Regions from separate parts of the Homo sapiens genome. Here region 2 is linked to region 1. The links are contacts of gene promoters, found by promoter capture Hi-C in blood cells and fetal thymus (Javierre and others, 2016). All regions are on one chromosome and are shown on one strand. The core of a region is centred on a gene start or on the middle of the fragment in contact, and the rest is flanking DNA. Distances in the headings are between cores, read along the strand shown.

Region 1 (3,058 bases), core at 8-2,507:
ACCTCCCCACCCCCAGAATTGCCAGCAGCCAATGTAATGAATGCTTCCGTCAACAACACACATTCCCCTTCCCACAGCAGAACTGCTCGCTCCCAACCGGCCATCTGGGGTTGGAATTGGCCGCACAGCACCAAACTAAGAATCATTCTCGGCCCCAAAAGCCAAGAGCTACCAGAGATTGAGGTTTCCCTGCGCATGGCTGCGGGGAGAGCAGCACCCCCTCCCACCAATGGGGGGAAAAAAAAAATCAGTGGGAAGGAGAGTAGAAACCAGGCCTAGGCAAGGTTGCTAGAGAAATAAATCTTGTTTCTCTTTAACGAAGAGCAATAACATTTCTTGCACCCTCTCTAATCCGAAGAGAGCCCAGGCTCTTGCACTCGACTTCATTCCCTCCTGGAATCCTAATGGGAGATTAAAAACCACCTTCCTTCCCCGACCTATCCACTCCTCAAACCTGGCATTGTTAAGGAACGTACCCCCAGATCAAGCAGTAAGAGGTGAAGCGAGAGCTAGAACAAGGGCCCAGATTCTAGGACCAAGCGGCTCTTGCAAGAAAATCCCCTTGTGGCCTGAGAATAAAGTTTTAACCAGCAGCAAGGGCGCGGGCCGAGGCCCGGCCAGGCTGGAGGACAGGCCTGCGGAGGTGACACTCCCTTATTCTCCAGCAGCTCGGGAAGGCGGCGCCCGACCGCCACGGCCCGCACCCTGGGAGCAGGGCGAGGGCGCCGACGAGGGGCCGGGGCCGGGGCCGGGGCTGGCGGGAGGCCTGGCCCGCGCCGCTCCCGCCTCCTTCCCCACTCCCACTTCCCGGCCCCCAAGCCCGGGCCCGTGAGGTAATGTCACGGGTGGCGACGCGGGTCTCGTCCACTGACCACACATTTCTTGCCGAGGAAAGTGAAGAGGGACTCGTTCTCCTGCGGGGTGAGCAACAGGGACCCCACGTTGGTGACCCTCCGCGGCGGCGGCGGCTGCTGCTGGACGGAGCTCATGGTTTCGCCGGCGGGGTTGGGAGTCCAGGGCCGTCTCCTCCGGCGAGTGGGCGAGAGCTCGTTCCCCCTCTCGGTGACAGGGGCGGGGAGAAGTGGAGTCAGAGGCGCCACATCTCGCAGCTCCTCCGGAGCGGGGAGGAGGACGAGGTCGAGGGAAGCAGGCGCTGACGGCGAGCCACCTTCGCGCCGCGCTGAGAAAGGGAAGCTCCCGGCACCCGCCCGGCCAGGCTAGGGCCGGATGGTCGTTGTCCTCGCACTCCGGCGACTGCGCTAAACTCCCAACTCCTCCCCCAACCCTCCCGCAGCGGCGGCGGCGGCCGCACAATCCAACATGGCAGCGGGGGCGGGCGAGACCACAGGACGGAGGGCGCGGGGGAGCGCGCCGGAAACGCGCGGCTGCGGCCCGGGAGAAACCCCCCCACTCGGCGGCGGGCCTCGCGGCGCGGGCCCGAAGCCACGCCCCCTTCCGGCCGAGGCGCGGACCGCGCGGAGCTAAGTGGAATCCCGGTTGGCTTGGGGCGCAGGCTTCCAACTTCGTACTCTGGCCTCTGGCGTCTCGGCTCGTCGGTTGGGTACCCGAACCCAGCTACTGCTGCTTGAAGAGAAGATGGATGGGGACTCCTCGCCGTCGCTGCGCCGCCGGCCTTCCCTGGGCGGACGTACACCTTTGCGAAGCGTCAGTGAGGACCCAGGGCCCCTCCTTGGAATAGCTCTTATTTCTCAAGCGCTGCAGCGTGAAGCTCGCTCTGCGGGTCCGAGAGGCCTGCGATCTGAAGACTGAAAACTGGGAAGAGACGCTCTACCCTGTGCTCCTCGCCGGCTTCGATAGGAGCCGCAGGTGCCTGGGATTTTCTCAAACTTTGTCCCAAACTTCAGCTGTGGGAGTGGAGGAACAAACAGGCCTCTCCCAGAATTGTGAAAGAGATCGCCCTGGTGGATGAAACAAAAACAAATGCACTTGACTTCCACCGCCTGCCTGGCGTGTCACGCGGGTTTAATGTATGTGTCACATTTAAATTCAAAGTATTTTCTTCTAAGGGCCTGGACACATTTCTTTTCTCCCTGTATCGTGAATTGGAAAATACCTTAGGATATTAAAAGTTATCTAAGATAACCCCCTTTCTTCTGTAAGTTAAATACTAAACGGCTTAAGACGAAATTTTGGAATATAGAGATGATGATGCAGACTGCAGTGAATTATCAAATATGCATCTCACTGTTCTCCACATTAAACATATTTTTGTTGCGTAAATTCATGTTAAGACGTCTATAACAATTACACTTTGGTAAAATTGTTGGATGTTAACATCTCTGATAGCTCCCAATAGAAATCTCTGATGTACTAACCAGACTGGTAAACCATTATCATGCACTTTGAAAATATAATAAAATATTATAATTAAAGCTGCCATTAATGAAATAGGCTGAGCAACAATAAATTTACAAAGGAAAATAAAAGTGGATAGCCTTGGGAGTTCTCACATAAAATATGGAGATTTCAAAGTTAAACTTGATTAATTATGTTAGGGTAAAAAGTGAATTAAAGCAACAGGACTATTTATAAAATAATTAGATTTAGAAAGCAGTCGTAGAAATATAAGCCTGGAGTTGCCTCTGAATTACATATTTAACAAACCTAGAAGCTAAATCAGTTTGTCTTTTATCAAAACTGCAACTCCTCTAAGTTGAAAGCACAGTGACAAGAGAAAGCATTACAAATTCTTGAGAAATAATAGAAATTAAAGCTCTTTTCAAACCTGTGAACAAGTATAGTACCAGAAGTATAAGATTCAGATAGGCCCAAGTTGTAGTTCTTGTTATGAGTCTTACAACCCTATGGACTTTGGACAAATTACTTCTCTGCGTCTGTTTCCTCATCTGTAAAATGAAAATAATTTCTGTTTCATACAGGTATAGTCTAAATAGGGATAATTACACCTACTTCAAAGTTGTAAAATACACAATTACAACTAGATAGGAGGTATAAGTTCTAGTGTTCTGTAGCACTGTAGGATGACTATAGTTAACAATATTGTATAGTTTCAAATAGCTAGAAGAAGGATATTGCA
Region 2 (2,744 bases), core at 34-2,533, 2.8 Mb before region 1:
AAGTAGTATTAATCATATTTACATTGTTGTGCAAAGTCCAAAATATTCTTGCCTTGTTCACAGCCCTTATTCAGAAACATTAGTCTCAACCAGCTTGCATGTTGCTTCCTCTTCTCCTTGGCATCTGGCCCAGATCTGGATTTCCTCCTTGTGGTTTATATATTGCCTGTAGACATGGTGCTCCTTTTTTAGCTCTAACTTCTAATTTCTCTCTGGGACCATGCTGTGCATTTAGCCCTTTATTATACTATTATAATTTTAGTAAATATCACATGAGCACAGCCCTTATGGCTATGTAAAGTGGAATTTTCTCTAGTCCTCCAAATTAATTCAGATAAGAGTTCATCAGATTCCAAAATCTTAGCATCTATCTTCACAATCTCAATGCTGTGTCCTTGTTGTCACTAACCTAGACTCATTCAGTGGTTTAACCAGTTACCCCTCCATCTGCCTGCATATTCTAGGCAGTCTGTGCACAGGTCCCATTAATACCTCTGCTGAAAGCTTTCAGGAGTTGTAACGTTGAGCGCACTCAATTGAGTAGAAACCACACTGATCCTGGCATGTTCCAACATACTTTTCCAGCCTTATCTCTACCCTGTCTCTATGTGTAATCCATAATCCATAATCCACCCAACAGCCTGCCTATTTTCTAAACTCCCACATCTCTCCTTCTGTCAGGAGTCTCCTCCAGGGAGCCTGCTCTACTCAATACCTCTAGAAATCTTCATGATCATTCTTAAAGCTTTTGAGAACCTATGGAGTTTCACTTCCTTCATTATAGCAGCCCTTATCTCCATAAGTGGATGTGTGCTTAAACATCCCTAATAAAACTTATGTTTCATTGTAACTATTTATAAATGAAGGAACATTAGAATGTTAGAACTGCAAATAAGTTAGAGATGATTAAGTTCAACATCTTTCTTTTTTAAGTGAAGAGAAAGAAGGTCACAGAAAGAAAGTGGCTCTCTCAAAGTAACATAACAAGTTGATAGTGTGGACAGGACTGGACTGAGACCTATGTCCTTTCTATTTTATTATAGCCCCATATGCTAACTCCATTCATTGGTATTATGGGTTAAATTGTGTACCCCATCCCTGAAAAGATATGTTGAAGCCCTAAACTCCAGTACCTCAGAATGTGACCTTACTTGGAAATAGGGTTATCGCAGATATAATTAGTTAGGATGAGGTCACACTGGAGTAAGGTGGCCCCTAATCCAATATGACTGGTGTTATAGGAAGGCAGTAGATGGGGCGTGGTGGCTCACACCTGCAATCCCAGCACTTTGGAAGGCCAAGGTGGGTGGATCACCTGAGGTCAGGAGTTTGAGACCAGCCTGGCCAACATGGTGAAACCCTGTCTTTACTAAAAATACAAAAAACTAGCTGGGCATGGTGGCGGGCACCTGTAATTCCAGCTACTCAGTAGACTGAGACAAGAGAATCACTTGAACCCAGGAGGCAGAGGTTGCAGTGAGCTGAGATTGTGCCACTGCACTCCAGCCTGGGTAACAAGAGCAAAACTCGGTCTCGAAAAAAAATAAAATAAAATAAAATAAAATAAAATAAAATAAAATAAAATAAAATAAAAAATAAAAAGAAGAGGACAGCATAGGAAGACAGAGACACACAGGGAGAATGCCATGTAATGTTGAAGGCAGAGATTGGAGTCATGCAGCTGCACACTGAAGGACACCAAAGATTGCGGCAAACCCCCGGAAACTCGACAGTCAAGGAAGGATTCCACCACAAGTTTCAGAGGAACTGCTGACACTGTTATTTCAGGCTTCTAGCCTCCAGAATTACGAGATTTAGTAAGCAAGCTTCTCTTGTTTTAAACTATCCAGCTTCGAATACTTTGTTACAGCAGCTCTAGGAAACTAATAAATTTGGGAAGGCAGAATAGTTAAGTACATGAACACTGCATTCAAATTAATACCATTTATTAACTTGTTACCTTGGGCACATTTCTTGACCTCTCTAGGATTTAGTTTCCTTACCTGAATATGGATATATTATCACCAACTCCCCAGGCTAACATGATCCTTAAATGAGATAAATCACATGAAGCACTTAAAGTGTCTGGCAGATAGAAAGCACTCAATAAATATTAACTATGAAAATAATTATTATTTAATTTCCTTGAAGACTCCCTCCTCTCTGTGGACCCTATAGACCCTAACATTTGGCCTTCACAAAGTCAGTGAGCAATAAATAATTGCTGCAATCAACATAAGTCTTTGGATAAGAAATGTCTGAGATGAAAGCTTTGTTGAGTTTCTCTCTCTATCCCCCAGCCTCTAAGCTGTTGCCTTTTCACAGTAAAATGAATCTTTTGAAACAAAACCAAACTTAAGGAGGCTGATATATCACTCAACGTCAGACTTGCTTATTTATAGGCAAGTCTTCAGTTTTGTGGAATCCTTTTTTTTTTTTTTAAAGTCTGAGATGCTGAGATGAACAGCATGTTATAGCTGGGGATGGGGAGGAGTGAGTTCAGTGCAGATAGGAGGAAAGAGATTAAGATTTTGGACCCTGAGTAACATATCTATTCATTGGTTTATTGTCTTTCTACACAGAATATAAGCTCCTTCAGATCAAATGCTTTAGTTGATTGGCTTACTGCTACATCCCCAGTGTAAAAACAGCCTCTGATACATAGTGAGCATTGAATAAATATTCAGTCGATGAATGAATAAATAAATGAATGATGAATTTGAATTTGCCAACTCTAGAGCAGG

What was found. The method cuts DNA at HindIII sites, captures the fragments that hold promoters and counts their contacts. A CHiCAGO score of 5 or more calls a contact.
Region 2: a contact is called between a fragment that was not itself captured here and the fragment with the promoter of WASL in region 1, in 1 of 17 cell types (M0 macrophages). The highest score is 9.9, in M0 macrophages.

What each region holds. Positions count from the first base shown.
Region 1 is chr7:123,747,746-123,750,803 of GRCh38, forward strand. It overlaps WASL (WASP like actin nucleation promoting factor), which reads right to left and starts at 1,258. Exons shown (of 11, transcript NM_003941.4): 1 at 873-1,258. The coding sequence starts at 989. WASL-DT (WASL divergent transcript) reads left to right here and starts at 1,450. Exons shown (of 1, transcript NR_170281.1): 1 at 1,450-3,058. RefSeq lists enhancers at 179-228, 988-1,642 and silencers at 671-760, 1,221-1,540. The HindIII fragment of the contact is 6,394 bases long and covers 1-3,058 here.
Region 2 is chr7:120,996,388-120,999,131 of GRCh38, forward strand. All of the region lies in intron 2 of CPED1 (cadherin like and PC-esterase domain containing 1), which reads left to right. Among named protein-coding and RNA genes, the nearest start is that of CPED1, 9.0 kb to the left of the region's middle. The HindIII fragment of the contact is 1,081 bases long and covers 744-1,824 here.